4 separate regions of the Homo sapiens genome follow, and regions 2, 3 and 4 are each linked to region 1. Evidence: promoter capture Hi-C in 16 types of primary human blood cells and fetal thymus (Javierre and others, 2016). All regions are on one chromosome and are shown on one strand. The core of a region is centred on a gene start or on the middle of the fragment in contact, and the rest is flanking DNA. Distances in the headings are between cores, read along the strand shown.

What was found. Contacts are between HindIII fragments. The CHiCAGO score rates a contact against its expected background, and 5 or more counts as called.
Region 2: a contact is called between a fragment that was not itself captured here and the fragment with the promoter of LSM8 in region 1, in 1 of 17 cell types (total B cells). The highest score is 7.1, in total B cells.
Region 3: a fragment that was not itself captured here is called in contact with the fragment with the promoter of LSM8 in region 1 in 1 of 17 cell types (non-activated CD4 T cells); the score reaches 5.8 in non-activated CD4 T cells.
Region 4: a contact is called between a fragment that was not itself captured here and the fragment with the promoter of LSM8 in region 1, in 3 of 17 cell types (total B cells, naive B cells and total CD4 T cells). The highest score is 8.2, in total B cells.

What each region holds. Positions count from the first base shown.
Region 1 is chr7:118,182,386-118,185,593 of GRCh38, forward strand. LSM8 (LSM8 homolog, U6 small nuclear RNA associated) reads left to right here and starts at 1,779. Exons shown (of 4, transcript NM_016200.5): 1 at 1,779-1,869. The coding sequence starts at 1,839. LOC105375470 (a long non-coding RNA gene) reads right to left here and starts at 1,583. Exons shown (of 4, transcript XR_927904.3): 1 at 1,530-1,583. The HindIII fragment of the contact is 4,305 bases long and covers 1-2,855 here.
Region 2 is chr7:116,178,370-116,181,442 of GRCh38, forward strand. No RefSeq gene overlaps it. Among named protein-coding and RNA genes, the nearest start is that of TES, 31 kb to the right of the region's middle. The HindIII fragment of the contact is 2,686 bases long and covers 454-3,073 here.
Region 3 is chr7:120,929,874-120,932,985 of GRCh38, forward strand. No RefSeq gene overlaps it. Among named protein-coding and RNA genes, the nearest start is that of ING3, 19 kb to the right of the region's middle. The HindIII fragment of the contact is 3,941 bases long and covers 1-3,112 here.
Region 4 is chr7:116,162,304-116,165,327 of GRCh38, forward strand. No RefSeq gene overlaps it. Among named protein-coding and RNA genes, the nearest start is that of TES, 47 kb to the right of the region's middle. The HindIII fragment of the contact is 5,978 bases long and covers 1-3,024 here.

The sequences.
Region 1 (3,208 bases), core at 529-3,028:
GCCTCTGCCTCCCTGGTATATGGGACTACAGGTGCCCGCCACCATGCTGGCTAATCTTTGTATTTTAGTAGAGAGGGGGTTTCACCACGTTGGCCAGGATGGTGTTGATCTCTTGACCTTGTGATCCACCCGCTTTGGCCTCCCAAAGTGCTGGGATTACAGATGTTAGCAACTGCACCCGGCCTCATTTTTATAAGATCACACAGAGGTTTTTTTGTTTGTTTGTTTTTGAAATGGAGTTTCGCTTTTGTCGCCCAGGCTGGAGTGGAATGGCGTGATCTCAGCTCACTGTAACCTCCGCCTCCCGGGTTGAAGCAATTCTCCTGCCTCACCCTCCAGAGTAGCTGGGGTTACAGGAACCCACCAACATGCCCAGCAATTTCTTTTTTTAACAAAACTCCTAACACCTCGTTAATCATTAATTAGTCTTTGGGTTTTGGTTCAACACCTAACATTTGCAAATCACACAATTATCTTTGTTCTTTCATTAGCGGAAGACACTTTCATTTGTTACCCTGAGAATATGAGACATTCACAATCTAATTCCTGACTACATTTGATTTCAAACAGATAGGAATAAGTTCCAGAATATAAAATATTAACTATTTGGGAGTATCTTGTGGGTATGCTCTAATTAAGAAATGCTTCCTTTTCCGAGGAAAACTGCTGACATTGCAAGAGTTATTACAAAGCCACAAATCTTAAGAAAATACATGTTTAACTGAAATTATAAAGATATTTTGCAAAAAAGGGAAATCGCTCCTGCTGGTGTTTTGTGTATAAATCTCTTTCTAACTTCAAGCTCTCTCAAGTTAGGGCAACAGTAAATGAAGTGGGAACAGTATCGCATTGGGAAATATCTGAAATGATACCTATGGGACTATCTAACGAAACTGAGGCCCAGAAGAATTGAAGTGACCTGTGCAATGACACCAATTTGTTAGCAGAGCCAAGATTAGAACCAAGTTTGGTGCCTTCCTGCATCCTTCCTGCATCGGTCCTTTCTCGGTGCTGCAGCAGCCTTTTACTTACTAATTTCACCCTGAAGAAAGGTAGACCATCCTGGCGTGGCAGAAGCGTGGACATTCGTTTTCTAAGGGATGGTCACACACCTTTGCCTATTTGCATTTAGTTTCTTTAAAAAGTAAAAACACCTCCATTTTGGAACACTTTTAGAGACAAAAGCAGAACATACGAAAGTGTATTTCACTGCTGAGTTCTTAAGAGGCGTACACCGTGTGGTTATAACGTGCGCAACTCTGTCCCGGGCAACTGAACTTATTTTTAGCGTTATTTTCGGCTTCTGCTGCAGAAAACTAGGGATTCAACTACCCGCACCTACGTTTCACACAACAGCACTCGTCTCTCTCCTTCACTCCTAATAAAAACACCTTACTTCGTTTATTCCTGCCTGCTCTACCTCGTCTCAACATTTTCTCTTGTTAACTTCCACCACACTGCCTTTTACTCGGATTGGAAACCCACTCTCCCCCAACTTCTGTCTCATACCCCCAACTTCTGTCTCATACCCCCAACTTCAGGAAGCGTCTTCCTTTTTTCCGCCTCTCGTTCGCTTTTGTCTTACGAGGCTTCCGGAACACGGCCCAGAATTACAGAGAAAACACACTGCGCACGCGCACTCTCTCGTCACCGCTGTGCGGCTTCTGTTTGGTTGGCCAGTTCGTCCCAATTTCCGACTCACAGGGCTGCGGAGCAGCAACTCTCACGATATTTGCTGCGACCCGCAGGCGCTATCCGCTGCCGGGTTCTGGCGCGCCCTTTCAGTTCTGCTTGCTGTCGGCACCGCTGCGTTACCCGGAACCGCCGGGCCGAACAGCATGACGTCCGCTTTGGAGAACTACATCAACCGTATCCTCAAGCTGGCCGCCGCGGGCGTGAGCCGGGGTCGCGGAGAGGCCGCGGTCGGGGATCGGTGGGAGGTTGGGAGGCCTGGCCTCGGCGGGATCCTGGGGGCGGGCGAGGAGATGAGGGCCCCGGAACGACCCAGAGTTCGCCGGCGGCGCCTCGAGCCTTCCCGCTGCTGCGGGCCCAGGGGTCCTTTCCATTTTGCCTGCAAAACCCAAATAAAAACCCAGTGTGATTATTCCGAACTTTTCTGTCTTAAAAAAAATGTACGCTCTTGATTCTTACTTACTATTTCCCTATGGCATAAGTGTTAAAGTTTGTGAATAAGATGAACAGTCGTCCTGGCGGCGACAACAGTTTTGCAAATCTTTGTACTTGTTTTATTCACATAATTTGCTCGTTCGAGGATAGCAAAAAGTTTAACGATGGTTCACAGACTGTTTCTGTCCCTTTACCACTTGAAGTCCCAACTTGTTGGTAGAATGAAAAAAAATGGTTGCTGTTGTAATGGATTATAGTGAGGAGCAAGTAACAACCCCATGGGAAGTCTTAAAATAGACTTTACAAGTGTTACCGTTTTAAAGTCTTAGGACAAAAACACTACGTTAAGCTCAGGTACAAACTGGGTGACAAAAATTAAATACCGAATGCTTTTAATGATGCGTTATTGGTACCCTGTGACACTGCTTATATAGTTTCTTTACTTTTGAATTACAGAAGCCTGTCCTGGAAGACAGTTTTTTAACATGCTGGAAAATCGTCCAACATCGATTAATTTAGTACTCATCCACTTTTCATTTTAGAAATAAACAGGCCTAAGAAACGAAATATCCTGCCTGAAATAATAGATTGGTAACCTTCCTAGTAGAAAAGTGTCAAAAATCCAGGATATTTTGAGATAAGATACACCGATCACATACAGAAAGAGGTTTTCTTTTTCTATTTTTTCCCTTTTTTAATCATGTAATTATCACAAAGACAAAAACAGAAGCTTTTTTTAAGTTTTTTTTTTTTTTTCTTTTTTTGAGTCGAGGGTCTCACTCTGTTGCCCAGGCTGGAGTGCAGTGGCTTGATCATGGCTCAATGCAACCTTGAACTCCTGAGCCCAAGCAATCCTCCTGCCTCTGCCTCTGCCTCCTGAGTAGCTGGGACTATAGGTCACCAGGCCAGGGTAATAGAGATGGGGGTATCGCTGTGTTGCCCAAGCTGGTCTCACCTCAAGTGATCCTCCTGCCTTGGCGTCTAAGAAACTTTTAACGTTTTTATGTAGTGAACTTAGTGGCTGTGTTGAATACTTATACCTAGTTGTCATATTTATTCTAAAAATTCAAATCATTCCCTT
Region 2 (3,073 bases), core at 547-3,046, 2.0 Mb before region 1:
ACAATGAAACCCCGTCTCTACTACAAATACAAAAAATTGGCTGGGCGCGGTGGCTCATGCCTGTAATCCCAGCACTTTGGGAGGCCGAGGTGGGTGGATCACCTGAGGTCCGGAGTTCGAGACCAGCCTGACCAACATGGAGAAATCCCGTCTCTACTAAAAATACAAAATTAGCCAGGCATGGTGGCGCATGCCTGTAATCCCAGCTACTCCGGAGGCTGAGCCAGGAGAATGGCTTGAACCCGGGAGGCGGAGGTTGCTTTCACTCAGGAGGCTGAGGCAGGAGAATGGGGTGAACCCAGGAGGTGGAGCTTGCAGTGAGCCGAGACCGCGCCACTGCACTCCAGCCTGGGCAACAGAGCGAGACTCTGTCTCAAATACAAAAATAAATAAATAAATTCATTAATTAATTTTTAAAAAATTAAAAATAAAACACAAACACTGAAGAGAAGAAGCTTAGAATAAGGGAGGAAAGCATAATGATATAAAATTAAGTAAAGTAATATTTAGTTTGCTCAGAGGGAATAAACATCTTGTGAGAGAAAAAAATTAATGAGGTTCTTGGAAGTATTTCTCTATCTCTTAGACAATTGGTAATTATCATGAAATACTACTAGTCATTAACATAGAAAACTGGGCTAGACAGAGACCTAAGAGTTATACACCCATGATTAACTTTGATTGGAGAAAACCAATTGCAATGTATGAGATCTCCTTTAATACTACTTCCTTTAATTCCATGTCTTCCCCTTCCTGCCACCTCAATTTCCACCATTTAATTTGGCACATGATGCCTCTCATAATCTGGTCTCTCAGATCTCACTACCCCAAATTTTCGACGGCCCTTACCCACTATATGACCAGTGATCCGGTAGTGCCAAACTACTTTTAGTTTCTCAAGTAAGCTATCATCTTTGATGGCCATTTGTTTTGCATATTTTCTTCCCTCTGCTTAGAACAGTCTTACCATTACCTCGAAAAAGAAATCAGACTATATTAGTTTGCGAGGGCCACCATAATGAAGTACCACAGACTGGGTAACTTAACATAAATTTTCTCAGAGTTCTGGAGGCTAGAAGTCCAACATAAACAAGTCAGCACAGTTGATTTCTTCTATGGGGTCTCTCATTGGCTTGTAAATGGCTGTTTTCCTGTGTTTTCACATATTTCCTCTGTCCATGTCTGTGTCCAAATTTCTTCTTCTCATAAGGACACCATTCATATGAAATTAGGGCCTACCCTACTCACCTCACTTTAACTTATCTCTTTAAAGACAATATCTCAGAATACAGACACATTCAAGGTTACTGAATGCTATGACTTCAATATATGAATTTGGGGGGAGAGTAAAATTCAGATTATAACAGACAAATTCTTACTGTCTACAATACAGCTTTATAGTAATTTCTTCTAAGAGTTCTTCATCTTGAATCTTTCCATCTCAGTCTGAGTTAGGTCTCCTTCCTCAGAACTTCCAAAGCACTACCTGTATTCCTCTATCACATTAAAGGATATGTTTTCTCACTCTGCTCTAAGATGTGACTTTCTTTTCCTTATCCCAGCACCTACCCCTGTGCCTCACACCTGGTAAGTGTGCCATACTCTTTGTACCTTGAAGTATAAGCCCTCTAGCCTGGCTGTATTGTGATAGTATTTCATTGGATAGGAAATATAGAATTAGAAAACATAGACAATTAGTGCCTTTTTGTAATGTTGAGTTTAAGAGATATCTATATATAGAAATAAGTAGCAAGGAAGTGGAAATACAGGCATGAAACTCAACGGAGAAAACCATGCTGAAAGTATGATTTGGTGAATGGGTATGATCACTCAGGGAACATGTATAAATGAGAATAGCATGGAAAAATCTTTAAAGAATAACAAATTTTTGAAACAGCAGGAGAAAGAATAGAAATGTCAGAGAAGCAAAAGGAGGCTAAGAGAGAATAGTTTCTCTTCCCATTGATACTATTTTCCATACTAGCATCAAACTTTGCAGTGAGCTGTTTATCCTTTATATTGCCACCAGGGGTCTCCAACAACTTCTGCAATGCCTGACAGAACTCAAAGTATCTTATAGCTGTCTTTACAAGGGCTTTGGCAACAATAACATTCCTTGAGAAAGAAGACCAGGTAGGTGCCTCAAAACAGTGTTAGATATCCTTGACTGAGCTGAAGTCCGGAGGAGTCCTTTAAGTTACTCTTGGTCTGCAGCTTACTGACCACCAGGTAGTCTCTTGTACTGGCAACTTTGTCACACAATGAATCACTGAGACATACTCTCCCTATCAAGAATTGAGACTGGTTGTTCACCTACGACACAATGAAGCCCAATACATAGATTGCATAAGGTTTGATGAGCACCCAGAGCAGACTGAAAAGAACTGGATGTTCTGAAGAAAAAAATTAAATCATGTAATAGGGACTCTATTATTTTGATTCTAGAAATTATCTATCTTCAAAAAAAAAAAGATGAGAAAAAAATGTTTTAAGTCTATCTCCTAGAATAAAGAAAAATAAGATTAGGCTGAATAAAGCTGACATTTATTTCTTAAACTTTTTCCTTTTTCTAATTATTCCTGCAGACAACTGCAATTAACTTTTATATATATATGTACTTTCATATTAAATGTTTAGAATTTTCACTAACATGGAAACGTTTAGTACAGAAAAGTAAAGATTGAACAATATTACTCATAGACCTCCTACCTCATTAACATTTTGCATATTTGTTTCTTCCATATATGTTTTGTCTCGATGTGTCCGGAATTGGTGGGTTCTTGGTCTCACTGCCTTCAAGAATGAAGCCGTGGACCCTCGCGGTGAGTGTTACACTTCTTAAAGGCGGAGTATCCGGAGTTTGTTCTTTCTGTTGTTCAGATGTGTTCGGAGTTTCTTCCTTCTGGTTTGTTCGTGGTGTCGCTGGCTCAGAAGCGAAGCTGCACACCTTCGCGGTCAGCGTTACAGCTCTCAAGGCGGTGCGTCTGGAGTTGTTCGTTTCTTCCAGTGGGTTCTTGGTCTCACTGGCTTCAGGAGCGAAGCTGCAGACCTTTGCCGTGAGTGTTACAGGCCC
Region 3 (3,112 bases), core at 13-2,512, 2.7 Mb after region 1:
TATCTGAGTTTCTCAGGGCCTAGAAAATCAACTGAGTTTTTGAGATACTCTTCATTCTGTTCCTCATTAAAACTTTATGCCCTACTCCTCATTTAATTGTTAAGAGATAATAAACCAATTCACAAAACATACTGATTTCTGACAACTCCCAAATAACAGGCATTTTTATCAGGAACAATGCATTGAATGGTGGCTTGTTTTGGTGAAGCTACTTTTGGAAGGAGGGCCTTCCCACACAAACACTTGCCAACCCTGCAAGAACACAGCTCTGGGTATCAAAATCATAATGGAATTATTCTGTGGATAAATGAGGACATTAGGACCAAATGGGATTTAAAGTAAGAAAAAAGTGAACAGTGCTGTGTTAATTCAAATCAAAGTGATTTTTATTGCTGTCTACCCCACAGACTGATATTTAAGGAAGCGATATTCCTTTATTGCCCTGAAAGTGCCATTGACTATAAACTACTTTCCTTTTTGTTATTTTCTTGCCTCTCCTCACCTTAACATTAAACCTTACTCTTTAGTTGCCGTAAAAAATGTTTAAAAGGCTTTCTAAAATATATTGGAAATATCTGGGAACTATTAATTGAGTGCTTACCACATGGCAGATATTAAGTCTTTCATCTTATGTGCTCTACCACACATAATATGTATTATCATCCTTACCAGATGGAGAAGACAGGAGCCTACAGAAGAGACCAAATAAATTACTCTCCAGTTCCCAAATGTATGTATGTGGTAGAACTGGCACTGGTACCCAGACCCAACTCCAGTGCCCATGACTTTAACCACTCTTCATTATAATGCTTCCAAAAGTCAGGCCCTCTTCTACAAACTTTACATATATCTACTCTTTTAATCTTTACAACAACCCTATGAAGTAGGAATTGTTACTATCCCCACTTAGAAGTGAGGAAACTGAGGCAAGGAACAGTTAAATACAGTCAGTGAGTTACGGATAAAACATTTACTCTTATGTTGTCCAACTCCTAAGCATGTGCTGCTAACAACTGCACCAACAAAAGTGTTAAATAAAGCTGAGTATATTTTGAAGACATGGCAATATATAAAGTTTAAAGATAAAGTCAAAATGTATCTCTAATATTTTCATAGCATTAAAAGCAATAAACTATACTTAACTAAAAACTTTTGATAGGAATCAGTCTTCAGAGATATTTTAATATTTGAATGATCCAAAAGCACCCTTTCAAAATTACATTATATTTTAGTTTATACAAGACAATGCAAAGATGGGCCTTTAAAACATGTATTTTTTTACAATATACACTAATAAAACGTTAAGTTAAAAACTGATCTTTTTAACTTAAAGGTTAATCAGTTTTAAAGATTTATTTTGTGCTAACAGTAGATAAAGTGTAAACTCATTTAAATAAATTTTGAGAAAACAGAAAGTAAATGGTTAATTGCTGATGATGTATTTGCAGACTGCAAAAAAAAAAGAAACAACAAAAAGGAAATTATGACTAATTCAGCTGCAGAAAAAAATAACTGAAAGAGAAGAAGGTGTGTATTTGTTTAAATCTGGGCTAACAGTCAAGTTGGAAGACATACGGAAATTGCATTTTCCTGTTGATGAATCAAATAAATTAAAGATTCTGATCTTGAAATATATGTTACCATCCATAATTTACTTCTTCAGTTGAGAATGCACACATAGTTTAAAGTAAAATACCACATGTTTGTGGTAAAGGGCCATAGTATTCAATATTTATCATCAAATTTCATTTATTGACATAGCTACCTCTAAAAGTTTACAGTAAAAATGAATAACACTGGTGCCTACTTTTGAGAAAGGAATGTAATAGCTACTAATATTAATGATACTAATCACCATCCTAAAAGCCAAATTGAACATGAGTGTGTGTTTGCAATGTAGAATAGAAAGGGAAGATAGGAGGTCAGTTTTATTAGATGTAAGTTTATGCAAGTGGTCAGTTTTTAATGGGGGTTGAAAGATTTTCTTAAATAATTCAATGAACATTGACTTTAAAGCTCTAAGTTTTAAAGGAATGAGAGAGAGATGAAAAAAGAACTTTCCATTTGAACAAAGAACTTAAAAAAAGGGGGCCAGAGAAGATAGCTCTAAAAGTTGTGAAGACATAGAGGTTGCCATCAACTCTTTTCCTACCAGATTATACTGCTTGGCTTTAAAGTAGAAAGCACTGTAAATGCGAGTGAGAAAGAAATCAGTTTCTCCTATGAAGAGAAATTAGTTAGGAACCCTCACAAGAGAAAATGATGTATTATATTTGATATATCATCGTTAACAAAAAGTGTCCAAAATGCTGAAACAAAAGCTGGAGTTAGGAATCTAGGGAGACTGTACATGATTGTGGGGATTTGACACTAAGAAAGTTTCATGGCAAGAGTTGTCCTTAATTTAGAAGGGAAAGACAGAGTTTATGTTAAACAGTAATTGCTGCAACTGACGACAAGGGAGAAAAAAATCCTTAAATAATTTATGCTTCTTGAAATTGTGCTCTAAATATTTATTTCTTGGCAAATTATAGAAAACAAATGAAACATCAAAAACAGAAAATGGTATGAAGTTAGAACTAAATCTCAATGTAATTGTCATATCATAAGTGAAATCTAATACATTAATCTATTAGATTGGCTATAAAATCAGTTACAATATACAACATAGAGATATAATATACAATATGCGATCAGATACAAGAGACATATTTAAAATAAAATGATCTCTAGGGAGATTGAAGGTAAAGGGCAAAAAATACTGACCTTGAAAAATAAGTTACAATATACAATATACAGATACAATATACAATCAGATACAAGAGACATATTTAAAAATAAAAGGACTCAAGGGTAAAGGGCAAAAAAAAAAATACTAATCATGAAAAATGTTGAGTTTGTAAAATTAGTATCAGGCAGTTATGAAATCAAAGCAAAAGGCATTAAAGAAAAAAGTGAATACTTTAAAATGATAATGTAAGCCACAAAGATCTCTCTCAAAGATCTTTATGCATCAAATAACAGCTTCAAAATTCAAAATGGCTAAGCTGCAGAAAGTAAAAATAGATACAGAAAAACAATAATACCTAGCTCAGAGTATGATAGATTAAAT
Region 4 (3,024 bases), core at 121-2,620, 2.0 Mb before region 1:
CAACTTGGCACTTGTACCCCTGAACTTAAAATAAAAGTTAAAAAAATAGTATTAAAGCCATTTAGACTCAGGCAACATGAGTAAGAGAAAGAATATAAGGGATAAGATCAGAGAAATGAAAGAGGAACCAGGTGCCTAGCAGGCTATGATGAGGACAATGAATATTATTCTTAGCATTAGAAAGCATTAGAAGGTTTTGAGCAGAGGAGAAACATGATTCAACTTATATTTTCAAAGGATCACCAAGTCACCCAGGCTGCTTTGTGGAGGACAGACTGGGGAGGGGGGTGCAATTACAGAAGCAGGAAGATGAATTGGAAGGCTACTGAAATAGTCCAGCTGAAAAAATTGGTCCCAACTCCCTTGATGATATATGCACATATATAAGAAAACCAGGTTTTCTTACTGCAGCCATTCACAGGGTCTTTCCTATATTACTATGGCAAGAGTCAAACTGGAGAGCCAAGAAATGTGTCTGCATATGCAGGAATATATATATATATGGCGCTATATGCAGGAATATATATAGCGCTATATACATACAGCTATAGTCAGAGATAGCATCATGATATGGATAGCAGGAAAGGAGGGCTTTGCTTTAACAGATGTACAAGAACAGAGTTTGTGTAGGAGAAGGAGGAGGAAGAGAAATTTTATTTGCTAAAGGTTAGTTATTTTGAAAATGTGTTCTTTGATGAGAAGGATCAGGAATCAGGATAGTCTAGATAGAAAACACAGAGGCAACATATGTGGCACACACACACACACACACACACACACACAAAACACCAAACAAACAAAAAGAAAGGCCTGTTGATCTATTTCTGAAGAGACATGAGAAGAGTTATTTAGAAAGAAGAGCCAGCAGGAGGCAATGTAGGCTTACAAAGTACAATAGGCACATCAGCCTAGAAATCTTCAATCAATCAATCAAACCTTTCATAATGTAACTAATAGGGAGGAAAACATACTGGGAGGCATAGGATTACTGTGAGCTGTTTTGTAAAATACTCAGTAGTCATTGGTTTCTATTGTTGTAACAAAATATCCCTTTGTTATATATGATTAGCAAAATTGCCAGTGCCTGCATTTACAAATCCTAAACTCTATAGAGTTCATTTTCCTAAATTTCAACTACATTTGAGCTAATCAATAAATGGTCCCCTGACAATATAGCCCAGAGTTTAATTCCAGAGAAACCAGGAAGGGACCACTGTTACCAGGAGCAGAGTATTATCCCAAAGAACAACTGCAAATTCAATTGTTCAGGTTGGTTGGAGGTCATGTTCTATGTTCTACATGAACAGGAAAAGGACAGAGGCATTGTCTGGGTAGTCCATCCCAAAGAAACCACAGGGCAAAGTCTGGGACAAAAGAAGAAACACTAAAGCTGCCATGCACTTGCATCTTGAAGTCAGAGCAGCCAGGAAAGCTACTGTTCCAAAAGCTGCTTGAGAACTTCTGAGACTATTAATGTTGGCACAGCTCAGTCCCACAGACCAGCAGCTCAATAGAAATCCCTGGAATTTCTAAAGGTATCTGATGTTTCTAACTTGCCACTACCAGCTGTCAGGAGTATACACTCAGCACAGTAAAGAGCCCACAAATGTGCCCAGTTTACCTGGAAACTACCTTTTCCTCTATATTAGTGCTGTATTCCTCTAAGGGGTTGAATAAGTAGGACACAGGCTGAGCTTCTGAAATAGAGACCCCAAATACAGTGGTATAAACAAAGTGTAAGTTTATTTTGTGCTCATTTGATTATGCAGAGATTAGTAGTCCCAGATCGGGTGAGAGAATCTGCCTTTCTCAACAGGGTGTTCCATCTCTGGGCCACCTTGGCTGTCCCAGTCGCATCACCTTCTAGTAACACACATCACTTTCTCTCCTATTCCTTTGGTCCCAACTAAGTCTATGAGAGGAACTGGGAAACAGAATGCCTACCGAGCAGCCACACACCCTTCAGAAACTCAAGATTTCTTTTTAAAATAAGGGGAGATGAATCCGGATAGACGTCTAGGAAACTCTGCCATGGGTAACTTGACAAATCATCACAAACGTGAGGCTTGAGAAGAGATTAATTGGGATTTTCCCTGTTTTATAGAAGAAGAAACTAAAATAAAGTTGTATGACATTTTTTTAACTCATTCAGAAAAATCTAGAAGTCAGTGGGTGACTTTCCTTGCTGTCATTCGTTATAAAAACTCCATGCTTATACACTTGTTTTTGTAAGCATTTACATCCTTTGTACATACACAAAATTTTGCTGGAAATAATTTTATTCCTCCTCCTATTACTTTTAAAATTATCAGTGGTCCAGAGTTCAAAGATTAAGAATTATAAAATAGACCATGGAAAATTTAGCAATAATTGAGCTCTCCATGTCTGGTACTTATGTAGAAGCATGTTTTAATAAACATCTGCAGAACATATGCTCAGTGGAAAACCCCTTTGACTGAGCAAGATTGAGAAATGTTTCACCCAGAATCATCACTCCCATTTCCAAATGAATGCATATAATTCCCCAGCAAGAGATTTTTAAGGCTTGATTCTTTTATGTTAAAGTAAATATGCAGGAAAATATTAAATAATTATGAATGTCTATGCAATATGATAATATTAGTAATGCTGCACCACAATTGCTGGGGGTGATAATAGGCATTTTACAAACATCACTTCTAATTCTGACAGCAATTCTGGGCAGATATTATAATAACCATTTTAAAACAGAAAATAAAGGCTTGAACAATTTAACAACCTTGCCCATAATTACACAGCTTGTAAGTGACCGACCTGGAAGGTCAGTGGAGATCTTTCAGTATTTAAAATTTGCATGGGACATGTTAAAGTAGCATTGTGTGTTGGCACTGCTGTTGAATCATAAATGTGCTCCATGGACTGTTTAAGTTAGACGGTGACCTTCTAGAAGGTGCCAGCCTTGAAATAACCACTACCTTCATTGTAAGTTCCCTTTCCATGAGTTTTCTTTTATTTTTACACCTTTGTTATTTTCTTTTTCTATTT